Regions from separate parts of the Homo sapiens genome. Here regions 1, 3, 4 and 5 are each linked to region 2. The links are contacts of gene promoters, found by promoter capture Hi-C in blood cells and fetal thymus (Javierre and others, 2016). All regions are on one chromosome and are shown on one strand. The core of a region is centred on a gene start or on the middle of the fragment in contact, and the rest is flanking DNA. Distances in the headings are between cores, read along the strand shown.

Region 1 (2,700 bases), core at 91-2,590, 1.3 Mb after region 2:
TCGTCCTCCGCGCCTCCCTGCGGCGCGCAGCACAGAGAGCCCAGCCGCTTCCGCAGCTGTCGCCGGAGCCGGCAGTCGCCCGCCTGGAAGAAGAGGTAGACGAAGGGATTGAGAGCGCTGTTGGCCATCGCCACCACGCGCAGCGCCGCCGACAGGCCCTCTCCCTCCCAGTCTCCCGCGGGCCCGGACGACCACGCGGCCGCCAGCCGGGCGGCAAAGTAGGGCAGCTCGCAGCCCACGAACAGCAGCGCCAGCAGCAGGCTCATCTTCAGGCTCTGCACCTTGGCGCGGGGCAGCGCGCTGGGCGCAGGGGCTCGACCTGGGCTCGCCGACCAGGGCGCTGCAGCCGCGGGGGCCTGCGGCCGGTGCCGCCACCAGACGGAGAGTAGGTGGCCGCAAGCGACGCCCAGGACCGTAACAGGCGCGACGAAGCCCGCGACGGCCTCGTAGAACGCGTAGACCTGCAGGTGCCAGCGCGGCAGGGGCGCGAAGATCCCGTGGCAGCGACGCTCCCCCGGCCAGGCGCGGGCGGCCGGGGGCGCGCCTGGCTGCAGGGACGTTGGCGGCGGCGGCGGCGGCAGCGGCGAGGGGGAGTCCCCGCGCACCACGAAGGCCGGGGGCAGCGCCAGCAGCAGTGCCAGCAGCCAGCCCAGGGCGGCGAGGGCACGCGCGGGCAGCGGCCGGCCGTGCGGAAGACGCACCGCGCGCCGGCGCTCGAGGGCGATGAGCACCACGAGGTGGGCCGAGGCGCCCCGCCCGGATGCCTGCAGCAGCTGCAGGAAGCGGCACGCCAGGTCCCCCGTGGCCGCGCGGGGCTCGCCCAGCAGTTCCCAGGCCAGCTGTGACAGCGCCGTGCCCCCGCACGCGTACAGGTCCGCCAGGGCCAGCTGCACCAGCAGGAAGTCCATCTTGCGACGCTTGGGGCCCGCCCAGGGCCCGCCGCCGCCGCACAGGCGGCACAGCACTGTGGTGTTGCCTGCCACCGCCACCACCAGGATGACCCCCAGGAACACCAGGCGGACGCGGCGGCTGGGCGGCCCAGAGGCAGGGGCTCCTTGCCCCAAGGTCAGGTTGAGACCCCAGCCCAGCAAGATGGGCACGGAAATGTTGGGCGCCGGCGGCAGAATTGAGGGGCTAAAGAGATCCTCCATCCTTGTCCCGGAGGAAGAGGAGGCACCGAAGAGGGCGGGCAGGACGCGGGAAACCAAAGTGGAGGCGAGGCGGCGCGGGGAGCGACGCTGGGTCTATACGAGTTCCCAAAGTTAGTTGAAAAGGCACACGCACAGAGAGGGAGATGGATTCGGGCGGCTTTGCGCTTAGTTGTTTTTGTCGATTGTCCTCGTGATTTGTCACTCAAATGTGGGTTGTACACTCGAGGAACACACATGATTCCTATTCTCCACCTTCCCCGCGTCTTCCCTCCCATTCCCGGCGGGTACTCTTCCAATCTCTGCAGCGGCCCCCGACGCTACCCTCGCGGAAGCCGCGGACCCCTGGGCGCTGAGAACCTCATCCATTCTCTATTTACGTGTAAAGCACAGCAGGACAGAATGTCGCTTTGCTTGGCCATTGTATACGGCCAGTGTTATGCCAGCACCCACACAAGAGAGGACCTCTTGACTGAGATTGTACCACACGCCCCCACCACCCCAATGTGATTGCCAGTAGGAAAAAAATAGAAAAGACATTAGTTTTTATTTTAAAGGTTTGAAATGCCATGGATCTGCACGAGCATGAGAAAAACAGGAACACAAGAAACCTAACAGCGTTTTGAGCAAAGAGGAGACCTATTAGCTGAATTTTGATCAAGATGTGTCTTCTCTGTCCAAGAATGAAAGTATTTTAATTAGAGGGTACTAAAGTCAATGATGTTGCTTTTAGGAGTGGCAGTGTTGCAGATCGTTCCAAATACTAGGAGCAGTGGGTCACAGCTGCTTTCTTGGTGATGTAAAATTCATTTCATTAGTCTGAAGAGGGCATTAATAGGTTTTATGCAAATGGTAGTGCATTTATTGCTTTTCTCCTAATATTTTCATCCAGTGAAGGATGCGTCATCACACTCCTCATTCTCTTGATTCTGTTTTCCAGCAGATGGGAAGTTGCTAGGAGGGGCTACGCCTCCAATAAGCCTAGAGAAAAGGTGACTAAGAAAGTGATAAGGCGGCCAATTTTTTTAAAAAAGAAATCCAAGTCACAGGAAATGGTTTAGATTAAATGTTGCTGCTTTCATTTTAGCCTTGTCTCCTCACAAACACATTTTAGTTTCCCTGTTGGAAGCATCCATTTGTCTTTTTATGCACCCTCCACGTTAATCATGGTGAAAGTAGAATTTCCTGTACTTCCTGGCCTGGGGGCCAGGGAGGTATGAGTGTTGTCTAGGGTTCACATTCCCAATCTGAGGAAACATTTGGAACTTTAAGATTCATGGCCTAGGAAGATTTGGTGGGTTCCATGATAGTCCTGCCAGCTGCTGTAGGAATCCCATTTCCCAAGCTGTTGTCCTTTGGCCAGAAACCTTGGTTATTTTCATCATCATCTCTGTGGTGCCTCGCTCTGGTCTGACAGGTTGTAGTTATCAGTGGGTATGTGTTGAGTTGATGAATTAGTGGATATACGATGCTTTTCAGATACCTTCGAGCATAAATGCCTGCCTTGACTATAAATCCATCACCTAAGAAAAAATTCCTTTTATACTATGCC
Region 2 (2,700 bases), core at 130-2,629:
TAAGTCTTAGTAATTACAAATAGAACCTGAATGAGAAAGAAAATTCAGAATTAAAGTTGTTATCAGTAAGCCTAATTAAACAGTGCAGACAGAAAGATGGCAGTAGAATAAAGCATTCTACATTAGGAATAGGGAGAATATAATCAGTAGTTCACAGCCCCATGAATGAAGCACAGCATACAACAAAGTCTGGCTGGGATTTGGGATAAAGTGGACAATATCTGTCTGCTCTTGAGTGGTAACTAACAAACTAAACAGGGATATAGACTGTGGCCCCTATTAATGTGATACTGTACCTGAAGTAACCAACCACACTCAGCAAAACATGTCAACCAGAGACTGAATCCTCTTTTAGTGAGTCGTCTCCCTTACTGGCAGTTTTCCTACTTTCTATCTTAAAAGGGAATCCACACACTCAACACCGCAAAACGGTAAGACATCTCACCCCTATATTGTGGCTCTGGCACTTCTGGTCCGCACAAAAGCCATGGTTCTAACTAGGGTGGGATTTATGCTCCCCGTTCAGTGAAGGGCTGTGGCTGTTTGCAGGGTGCAGGCTCCCTGCGTTGACTCTCGCTTCCTGTCACACAGTGGTATCACCACCGTGACGGACCCTTGACATTAACAAGTCTTTGACTGAAAAACTGATGTGATCTGCAGCCAGTGAGGGGATGCGTGGTGGCCCTGCCGAGTACCTCGGCAGGGTCAGGAGGGTGGCACTGTGGCCAGGCACCTCCGCGGCACCGAGCGAGGTGAGCAAGCCTTTCCTGAAGTTTCCCTTCCTTCCACAACATTAACCTGCCAAGCCTCCCACCCCCACCCCGCCCTATTAGGAAAAGTCACGCCGGCAGCTCACTGAAGGGCAGGGGGACAGCTCCTGGCGCCCCACAAAAGTTGGGCTCGGCAGCTGCCACAACTTAACGCTCCTACAGGAGAGTCGGGCCGACACCGCCTCCTCCGGGGGCAAACCTGAGCTGCCAACTTTCCCACTGCCCACTCCTCTGCGCACAGCAGCCCAAACTTTGCTGTTTGCCCACCGGCCGCACCCCGGGCGAGCGGCGGCGGCGCTGACCTTCAAGCCAGCCCCGGGTCCCGCACTGGCCGCCGCCCGCCCCCCGAACCTCCCTGCCTCCCCCAGATCCCCTCTCCCTGCCTCCCTCAGCCCTCGTGGGAAGCCCGCGGTGTTGGGGGAGACGGCTGCAGCCCGACCCCGCGTGTCACGACTGCCCACGACCCTCAGGGCTCCGGAGAGCCCGGGTCCCGGCGCCTCGGCAGCCCACTCACCATTGGTGAAGGGCTCCATTTTCCCCCCGCCGCGGCTCCTTACAGCCGGAGCGCCCGAGCTTCCTACTCCGAGAGCTGAGGCGGCCCAGCTGACTGAGCATGCCCAGCGCGGCCTCCAAGGGCTGCCAGGGAGGTGCCGCGAGGGGCGGCGCCGCTCCGCCGTTCCGGGTTTTCGTGGCAGCTGCAGAAAGAGCGAGGGAAGCAAGAGGGAAAAGCACAGTCAAACCCCCTGCTGCTCCGTGGACAGGCGAGGTGGGAGCGGGTTCGCGCTGGGGGCGGGGCCTAGGCGGGGCCGGGAAAGCCCAGCCCCTACCTGAAGTGGACCCGGCTGCGGCGCTCTCCCCGGCCGGGAACGGTGTTCAGTCACTCAACAAATGTGGAGCCCTACTGCGACCCGCCCGATCCCGGACGCCGAGACACCCGCACTGCGCCAGAAAATCATGGTCCCAGTCCCAGGAGCGGACATTCCAGAAACAGACCATAAATAAACACAGAAGACACACGAGTGTAAAGTCAGTGCCCCGCTGCGAATTAAATCGGGGTGATGTGATGGCGAGTGAGTGGGTAGTTAATTCGGATGGCTTGGTTAGACGAGGCCTCGCTGAGCAGGTGCCACTGAAGCCGAAGTCTGAAGGCAGAGCAGGAACCTGCGGGCGAAGGTCGCTATCTGAACCGCGAATCGCTGGTTTCCCTGGGGAGGTTGGCCGCGGAGGGATCACTGCTCGAAGGACCGAGGGAGCGGGCGCTGTAGGTGTTTTCGGCAGAGATGCCCGCCCGCATCAGAGTGCCTCAGGAGGGCGGTGAGGAGGAGACGGAAGAGAGGGCGGGGACCTCGCAGGGCCGAGGGCGCCCTGGGGTCCAGTCCCGGGGCTGGCGGCTGCCTTGCGGCCTCTAGGTGCGGGCGGATAACAAAACCCGGCGCCGGATCGCCCGGCCCGGGTCGCGGGCGCCGCAGGATGTGGGCAGAAGGCCCGCCTGTTCCGAGCCTTAAATCAACACCTGCGGTTCCCGGGGGTGCTACCACTGGGGCCCGCAGCAAGGCTCCGCGGCGCTAGGCCCGAGAAACCGAAACTCCCCTAGTCGCCCCTGCCCCCCAGCACTCGCGCCATTGCCTCCAGCCCCGAGCCACCATTGTTTCCAGTGCCAAATCGGGCAGCCCCGCTAGCCTCCGAGGCCGAACCGCCAGGGGCCCCATAAGCCCCGAGGAGGCTCGTCGGGAACCGCTTCCTTATCCTCTCGGTATGCGCATCGCCACCACCCTCGCTGCAGAGGCCGCCGCCCTCCCAGCGCGCCATCACCGCCTCCTCTGCCTCTTCCCCTCCCTCAGCCCCGGCCCCTGCATTGACTTGGCTCGGGCTGCGCCTCACTGCGCCTGCCAACTGTCACACGCTCTGAGGCTTTCAACAGCGGGGCGCC
Region 3 (2,700 bases), core at 60-2,559, 1.3 Mb after region 2:
AACGTACTTACTTGTCACTCGTCTTGAACCATGACTAAGATGCTTTTACCAAGTGTGGAAACTTTGCCTACACATTATCAGAATGCTTATCTCAAGTATGACACCCTTGCTTTTACATGCAGGGAAGAGAAATGCCTTAGAGAGTAGTTTTGGTATCTCTCTGAATGGCAGAATAATAACAGATAAAACTAGCTGTCCTTTAGTAAATGCCTACTGCTTGGACCCTTTGAATATAATAGTTCATTAGTCTTCACAAAACCGCCAACGGGTAGGCATTAGTTTTATTCAGGTAGCACCCACGTTTTTATAAAAACATGAGGCTTGCAAGTAAACTATCCTGAAGACACAGAAACCTTTTAGCAAAGCAAATATGTATATTGGTGATATATATAGTATTGATATTTATATTTGTCACCAAAGATGGTCCTGAATTAAAAAAAAAAAGGAACGCTAATGTGCAACAGCTATGTTCACGAATGTTTACAATTGAACGCTTGCCCAATAATTTTATATAAAGTCACAGAGCTGCTCTGGAAATCAGCACCATCGTATGATGTTGAATTGTGATCACGAGTGAGCTAGACCTGGGTTTGCATCCCAGTTCTGCGTGATTTGGGGCAAGTTGCTTAACTTCGCTGTGCTGCAGTTTCTTTTACTTTAAGAAGGGCCCGCCACATAGGGGTGTGGGTAAAGCACATAAATGCTTTAACACATGTCAAATGTTTAGAGCAGGCCTAACCGCAGAAAACGCTCACAGCGCGTTAGCTGGCACCTCTAAGGTCCATCCAGCTCTGGCAGTTATCCTGCCTAACTTCAAGTTGTGTTTAACATTTCGGTAAAGACCGCCTGCAGTTCTGAGACTGCACGTGGCTGTCCAGGTGCTGCAAATTCTCGACACAGACTCCAGGAGGCGAGTATCTCCAGGACGGCCGGGGCTGCGGAAGCCCTGGAGCAGCTTCTATACTTTAGAGCTTTCATGGCACAAATGCCATGAAAGCTTGTTAAAAACGACCCGCGTACCCCCCTTAGGTGGCAGGTCTCAGGTGTGGCCCAAGTTTCAAGGTGAACAAGCTCGGTGAGTCTCCTGTGCCTGGGCGGAAGCCCGCCTTGGCGGGTTAACCGTTAACTAACGCTGAACCAAAACCCAAGAGGGCCTCAGGCCCCGCAGCGGCGCGGCCACAGCCGGAATGAGGAGTCCACGCCCGCAGCCCAGCCGGAAGCAGCTGGTCCCGCCAGCCCGCCCCCTGCGCGGCGAGAACAGAACTTACTGTCCCCGAGTCCTCGCTCCGCCTCCGCGTGACGCTACTGCACGAGCCAGAGCTCCAGACGTGCGCGGCGCCTCGACGGGGGCGGGGCGAGGCCGTCCACGTGACCCAAGAAGGCCCGCCCCCGGGACCGCCTCTATGGCATTGCCGGCAGATGACCCTGGTTGATAGAGATCTCTGGCCAACAGCGCCGCGCCAGCACCTTCAAACTGGCAGGCATACTCGTGTACTTGACAAATGTGGATAGCATCAGTTTACTTTTTAGTTGTTTGTTGATCTCATTACATTTATTCAAATTTTAGATGCGCCCAGCGACTTCATTCAGTTATTTACCCTATAAAAATATTTGCAGAAGGTCGTCGCGATGCTGGTAACCCATGTATAAGGATGTTAAGGCCGGGCGCGGTGGTTCACGCCTGTAATCCCAGTACTTTGGGAGGCCGAGGCGGGCGAATCACCTGAGGTCGGGAGTTTGAGACCAGCCTGACCAACATGGAGAAACCCCATCTCTACTAAAAATACAAAATTAGCCGGGCGTGGTGGCCCAGGCCTGTAATCGCAGGTACTCAGGAGGCTGAGGCAGGAGAATCGCTTTGAATCCAGGAGGCAGAGGTTGCGGTGAGCCGAGATCGCGCCGTTGCACTCCAGCCTGGACAACACGAGCGAAACTCCATCTCAAAAAAAAAAAAAATGTTTATTGCTGTGAAGTAGTGAAAATAGCTGAAGTGATAACACGGAGGAATGGTTCAATAAAACACAGCACAACAGTACAGACATGTGAATTACTTCGTAGCTGTGTACTGTATACTCAAAGGACAGGCCCATCATGTAATGAATATTAAAGGCAAAGCGTAGAATACTATATATGGTGTCCTCTCTTTAATGTAAACAATTATTTTTTGAAATACAAACATGCAGGTATGTACATAAACTTTTTCTCGAAAAATCAAAAGAAACAATAGTGGTTGCTTTGGGAGGAGATGGAGAGTTTTCACTTTCATATTATGAACTTTGCAATTTTGCTTTTTTCTCATTGTACTTCCCTGAATTGACAACAACAACAACAAAGAAAACCACCAAAACCCTCATATTTGTGTTCCGAGCTGGGAAACTAGATGAGCCTAAGTTTTTAATTTCCTTGACTACTTTCCAGTGCAGTGATTCTTAACCCTGGCTATGCCTTAGAGTCGCTTGGGAGTTTTGAAAAGTCGTAATGCCCAGTCTGTATGCCAGACCAACAAAATAAAACACAGATTATTTGGGGTGGGAAGGGAGTGGGCAGATTCAATGTATGTTTTTAACTTCCTGAGTGATTCCAGTGTGAACCCAAGGTTGAACACTACAACTTGTATTTAGTATGGTGACATAGTGATCTCAGGCTCTAGGGTGGCCCAATGAACTGGGGCAGCCGAAACCCAGGAACTTTGTCCATTTA
Region 4 (2,700 bases), core at 7-2,506, 2.0 Mb before region 2:
TCTTTTGCTATGCTATTGCTGACAGTCTTGAAATTTAGTTACTAAGAAATGTGGGCCAGGATGCACCTGTATAACAGTTACAGCTCAACACAAAGTTTTATGTAACTGAAGTTAAGCTTTTTAAAGATAATGCTGGAAGATTTCAAAGCATCAATTTGCAGCTGTGTGGATTTGTGGTGGTATTTGCAAGCAAATTTTTCAAATCCTGGTAGACTTTTTTTTAGTGTGTGTGTGGTTTGTTTTTTTTTAATTGAGATGGAGTCTCACTGTTGCCCAGGCTGGAGTGCAGTAGCACGATCTTGGCTCACTGCAGCCTCCGTCTCCTGTGTTCTGGCAGTTTTCTGCCTCTGCCTCCTGAGTAGCTGGGATTATAGGTGCCCGCCACCATGCCCCGCTAATTTTTGTATTTTTAGTAAAGATGGGATTTCACCATGTTGGCCAGGCTGGTGGTCTTGAACTCCTGACCTTGTGATCCACCCACCTCGGCCTCCCAAAGTGCTGGGATTACAGGCATGAGCCACTGCGCCTGGCTGACTTTTTTTAGTTTTAAATAAGTTATCTTGAGTGATGATTTACTTCAGGAATGGCTATATGGTTAAAGATCAGAATGGTGTATGAGTTACCTTTCAAAGATTACTTTTCTGTATGTAGTCATAATGTGTGGGCAAACATTAATGTGATGTTACCCCTTTTACTCTGCTTAAGTAGCTGCTTGTTTAAGATCTTGATGACTGATTGGTTATATATGGTGCAGTTTTGTGTTTTAAAATGAGTATTACTTTATGATGAATGGAGAAAATGTTTAACCTTTTTTTAAAATGGGAAATATTTAAAACTACAGAAATAGAAAAGTTGCACCAGTTGTGGTCCGTGGACCAGCGGTGTTGGCATCATTTGGGAGCTTATTATAACTGTAGAACCTTGTGCCTCGCCCCAGACGTACTGAATCAGAATCTTCATTTTAACAAGATTCTAAGTGATTCTTATGTATTAAGTTCATATACATTTATATGAAGCTATTCATCTGGAGTCATAGCATCTTGCCACTTTGTTATTGATGTTGTTATACATGGTTTTCATTCTCTGCGAACCTCCAATTAATTGTGTCTTGAGCAGGACTAGCAAGAGGCTAGGTAAGTTTCGTTTCTCCGGAAGCAGTAACAATGGCAACTGATGATTGTTGAGCTCTTGCTGTGCCTTAACCTAGCATGATGCACATAGGGCATTGTGCATTACTTGAATTGTCACAGTTCATCCTCACAAAACTTCTGTGATGTATACATTGTTATGATTCCCACTTTCCAGATGGGGAAACAAGATTTATAGCCATTTTATTTATTTTTTTATTCTTTTTTAAAAAACTATTACCTAAACTCTATACTTGGATTTCATTGATTTTTCCATTAACTCCCTCTTTTCTGTTGTAGGATTAAATCCAGAGTGCCACATTGCATTTAGTTGTCACGTCTCCCCAGTCTCCTTTCATCTGTGAGAGTTTCTAAGTCTTTCCTTAGTTTTCATGGTCTAAACCATCTTGAGAAATACTGGCCAGGTATCCTGTAGAATGTTTTTGAAATCTAGATTTGTCTTTTTTTTTTTTTTTTTGAGACGGCGTCTTGCTCTGTTGCCCAGGCTGGAGTGCAATGGCACGATCTCACCTCACTGCAACCTCCGCCTCCTGGGTTCAAACGATTCTCCTGCCACAGCCTCCCGAGTGACTGGGACTACAGGTGTGCACCACCATGCCTGGCTAATTTTTGTATTTTTAGTAGAGACAGGGTTTCTCTGTGTTGGTCAGGCTGATCTTGAACTCTTGACCTCAGGTAATCCACCCACCTTGGCCTCCCAGAGTGTTGGGATTACAGGTGTGTGAGCCACCACACCTGGCCTTGTCTATTGTTCTTAGGATAAACTAGGGTTATTGGTTTTTAGAAAGAATACCACAAAGATAAAGTGTGCTAGTCACATCATATGGGAAACATGTTATCCTCATGACATTACTGGTGGTGTTAACCTCTCACTTGGTCAAGGTAGTATTTGCAAGTTTCTCTACTGTAAAGTTACTGTTTTTCCCTTTCCATAATATATTCTTTGGAAGCAAGTCATTTTGTCTAGCCTACTTTCAAGAGGGTTGGGATAGGAATTAAATTCCATCTCCTGGTGGGGGGAGTATTTACATATATTAAATGGAATTTCTGTAAGGAAATTTCTAAATCGTTTATATATGTATGGATTTATGTATGTGCTTTGAGTTGTAATCCAGCTTAGTGGATTACAACTCTATAAAATATATATTTGTATATATTTATGTATAATAGGTATTTTATGTATCTATTGTATAATAGTTGACTTTTTTGTTACTTAAATTGATCTAGCCTTGGCTCTTGGAAGCTTTTTTAGGTTGGCTCGTATGTTTCTTTTACACACTGCCTTACTTTTACCCTAGAATCAGCCACTCTCCAAGGAGCCTTGGTTCCATTTTTTTGGAGAATGGCATTAGAAACCAAGATTTGGGTACTGGGTGTGCTTGTTGATATTCAAGTGTCACTGCTTTTATTTCCTCTCAGTGAACAAAGTAGACAGAGCTAGGTAATATATGTAGATATATTATGTATACCTACGTATCTATAGTCATTTCTGTATCCTTACGTCTGTATACATATTATCTCATACATAAACGTGAGTTCATACCGATGGCTC
Region 5 (2,700 bases), core at 200-2,699, 1.1 Mb after region 2:
CAGAACTTAATGCCATAGCCCCACCAGCTGCGGGGTAGGCTAGGCAGAGGGGCCCCTGCCTGGGAAGCCTCTTACCTAACTAAAACTCACTAAAACTCGAGGAGATCTATATCAAAAGAAGGGGAGAATGGCTATAGAAAGAAAGTTAGCAAACTGCAGCTTTCTCTTTTTTATTGTTTTTCCTCTGAGCCCCAATTTTCTTTCTCTGTTTTACATTTGAAAGCCTTCCTCAAATGTCTGGAGATCTGACTATCTGTAAATATTTAAAGAATGAGGCACTAAAAAAACTGACTGGAAGACTTGTGTGCATAGATTAGGCTTGCCAACGGATAGCTTCACCATCGAGAGCGTCTTTGTTCAAATGTCACCTTCTCAGCAAGGGATCCCCCATCCCCCTATCTAACACTCTCCCTTTCACTTTCACTTAGCATTCCCTATCCCTCTTTTTCAATTTATTTATTTTTTTCTATAGCATTTATCTTTTTTTTGAGATGGGGTCTTACTCTGTCATCCAGGCTGGAGTGCAGTGGCACAATCTCAGCTCACTGCAACCTCTGCCTCCTGGGCTCAAGCAATCCTCCCACGTTCAAGCGATTCTCCCACCTCAGCCTCCTGAGTAGCTGGGACCACAGATGCACACCTCCATGGAGGCTCACCTAATTTTTTGTATTTTTGGTAGAGACAGGGTTTCATCTTGTTGCCCAGGCTGATCAACACTCCTGAGCTCAAGTGATCCACCTGCTTTGGCCTCCCAAAGTGCTGAGATTAGAGGCGTGAGCCACCACACCCAGTCTATCTTTTAATATATGGTATGATTTATTTAGTTTACTGTCTCTTCACTATTAGAATATAAGTGCCTTGAGGTCAGGGATTGGTGTCTATTTACCGCTGTATCTGCAGCATCAAGACTGCTTGGCAGATAGTAGGCTCTTTCTTGAGTGAACAAATTAAAGAATAAATGAACAGGTACAGATCTGGTTGCCTCACTGGGAGATCCCCCAATTATTGGTTCCTGGACACCTTTTCTTTTGAGCCATTCAGTCTCTCCAGCTTCACAGCTGGGGGTTGGGCCTCATCCTCAGGGTTCTGGCTGCCAAGCAGGGAAAAGGGACTTGGCAGCTTCCTGGCCAGTGTGTAGACTCTCATGTAACCTCCTGTTTTCTGCCCTGCTCCTTGCTGAGTAATTCCGTGTGATCTGCAAGGATAGAAAGAATGATCTTTCAAAGAACATGGAGAGAGATTGGCAATAGGGGCTGGCAGAAAAAAACAGCAAAAATTAACCACCAAAAAATTCACAGCCAAAGCTCTACTCTTTCTGTTTACTGAAGAAAGCAAGTGATCCAATCTCCTGCGAATGTTGTTGATTTTAATAACCACCTTCTCTGCTTCCTCCAACCTGGCCCTTTGGGCTAGACTCCAGACAGCCATTTCTTCCAATTCAAGGCTGTCCAAAGATGCCCCTTAAGGAGAAAGAACTGGTAAATTCTTAAACTGATGGTAAATTCCTAAACTGGTGGTAAATGGATCTATGTGGCCCAGACCACACTATTTATATCCCCAGTGAGTATTATTAGGTCGTTATCTTGACATTTGGTTGCCAGAGAAAGCCATGCTCCCTAATTTACTACACCATAATAATTGTTCACAGGTCGTGGGAAATATTGTAAAGAACTGGGATCCTGAGATATTTTACTTAGAGTTCCTTTCTTATATTAATAGGGGTCTTCTTACCAAATACACCGAATGTTTGAAGGGGAAGAATTTAATCCTGCTCATTAGGGGAAGAGAATTCTGGCCTGGTCCCTTTAAGCACAAGGGATATTTAAAAATGGGTCTATATTTATGCACAAGTTTATACTTCCTGTCTCCAGGCGACTTTTCTGGTGAGCTGTGCAGAGCTGAAGGTAGGAGAGAGAGGGGAACTAGGAGAGCCAATGACGGCACAGAACATCGTGCAAGCTGGGGCTCTGGGGTTTTTTACGGACTCTTCCAGCGCACTCAACTCCTCCCTCCTAGTTGGCGGGGCTCAAGCCTCTGGGGACCTGCAGCTGAGCTTTCTCAGAAGCAAGAAGAGATGCCTCCTTCCTATTCTCTTGTGTGCCTTGTGAAACTTAAAACATTTCATATGTAAAATTACAAGCTGTTTATGGGGTGGAGATTTTGCGCTTCCTCCCATTATTAAGTCATCCTTGAGAACTGAGTGTGGATGATCTTTAACACAGTCTGCCCAGGGTTCTAGCCAGATGTGTTAAATGGGGACCAAAGGACCCACTCTGGGAATGGAGGACCAGCAACTCCTGGGAAGACAGAATTAAAGAGCACGGCTGGAACCTGTGGCCACGGGGGCTGTCCCCCGACATCTAGAATGCGACCCTTGTGTAGAGCTGACTCTGGGTGCCTTCATCCAGCCCCCTGCATAGAAGATCTCCTTTAGCCTCATCAAATCAGTCACTGTGTGATTAAAAAGTTCAGGGGGTGGCAGGGACAGCTGCCCCCAGAAAGGGAACAGTGTGGGCATCTCCAGACAGGTAAACCACAGGAAAACCAAGGAGCCCTAGTTCTCCTCTCCATCCAGGAAGCCTTTAGCTGGCAGCACAAGGGAGGGGCGGCCACACCTTAGGTTATTTTTGAGTCCGTTTCCCCACCCCTGTGTGAAGGTGTGGCCCAGTGGCAGATAGACTGTCCTTAATCTAACCAGAG

What was found. Contacts are between HindIII fragments. The CHiCAGO score rates a contact against its expected background, and 5 or more counts as called.
Region 1: the fragment with the promoter of GPR150 here is called in contact with the fragment with the promoter of LNPEP in region 2 in 1 of 17 cell types (fetal thymus); the score reaches 5.1 in fetal thymus.
Region 3: the fragment with the promoter of RFESD here is called in contact with the fragment with the promoter of LNPEP in region 2 in 1 of 17 cell types (fetal thymus); the score reaches 6.6 in fetal thymus.
Region 4: a contact is called between a fragment that was not itself captured here and the fragment with the promoter of LNPEP in region 2, in 1 of 17 cell types (fetal thymus). The highest score is 12.8, in fetal thymus.
Region 5: a fragment that was not itself captured here is called in contact with the fragment with the promoter of LNPEP in region 2 in 1 of 17 cell types (naive CD8 T cells); the score reaches 6.4 in naive CD8 T cells.

Annotation. Positions count from the first base shown.
Region 1 is chr5:95,618,727-95,621,426 of GRCh38, reverse strand. It overlaps GPR150 (G protein-coupled receptor 150), which reads right to left and starts at 1,340. Exons shown (of 1, transcript NM_199243.3): 1 at 1-1,340. The coding sequence starts at 1,151. RefSeq lists silencers at 1-439, 148-442, 460-509, 600-999 and an enhancer at 1,169-1,784. The HindIII fragment of the contact is 5,492 bases long and covers 1-2,700 here.
Region 2 is chr5:96,934,759-96,937,458 of GRCh38, reverse strand. LNPEP (leucyl and cystinyl aminopeptidase) reads right to left here and starts at 1,379. Exons shown (of 18, transcript NM_005575.3): 1 at 1,285-1,379. The coding sequence starts at 1,303. LOC124901030 reads left to right here and starts at 1,384. Exons shown (of 1, transcript XM_047417984.1): 1 at 1,384-2,700. The coding sequence starts at 1,384. The coding sequence ends at 2,088. It also overlaps a transcript of ERAP1 not described here. RefSeq lists silencers at 846-925, 1,056-1,125, 2,066-2,135, 2,576-2,695 and enhancers at 1,716-2,025, 2,326-2,465. The HindIII fragment of the contact is 7,112 bases long and covers 1-2,700 here.
Region 3 is chr5:95,645,386-95,648,085 of GRCh38, reverse strand. It overlaps RFESD (Rieske Fe-S domain containing), which reads right to left and starts at 1,309. Exons shown (of 6, transcript NM_001131066.2): 1 at 1,269-1,309. The HindIII fragment of the contact is 4,150 bases long and covers 1,000-2,700 here.
Region 4 is chr5:98,919,702-98,922,401 of GRCh38, reverse strand. All of the region lies in intron 2 of CHD1 (chromodomain helicase DNA binding protein 1), which reads left to right. Among named protein-coding and RNA genes, the nearest start is that of CHD1-DT, 7.5 kb to the left of the region's middle. The HindIII fragment of the contact is 2,275 bases long and covers 119-2,393 here.
Region 5 is chr5:95,808,167-95,810,866 of GRCh38, reverse strand. No RefSeq gene overlaps it. Among named protein-coding and RNA genes, the nearest start is that of GLRX, 13 kb to the left of the region's middle. RefSeq lists enhancers at 1,591-1,670, 2,091-2,180, 2,431-2,480. The HindIII fragment of the contact is 3,103 bases long and covers 1-2,700 here.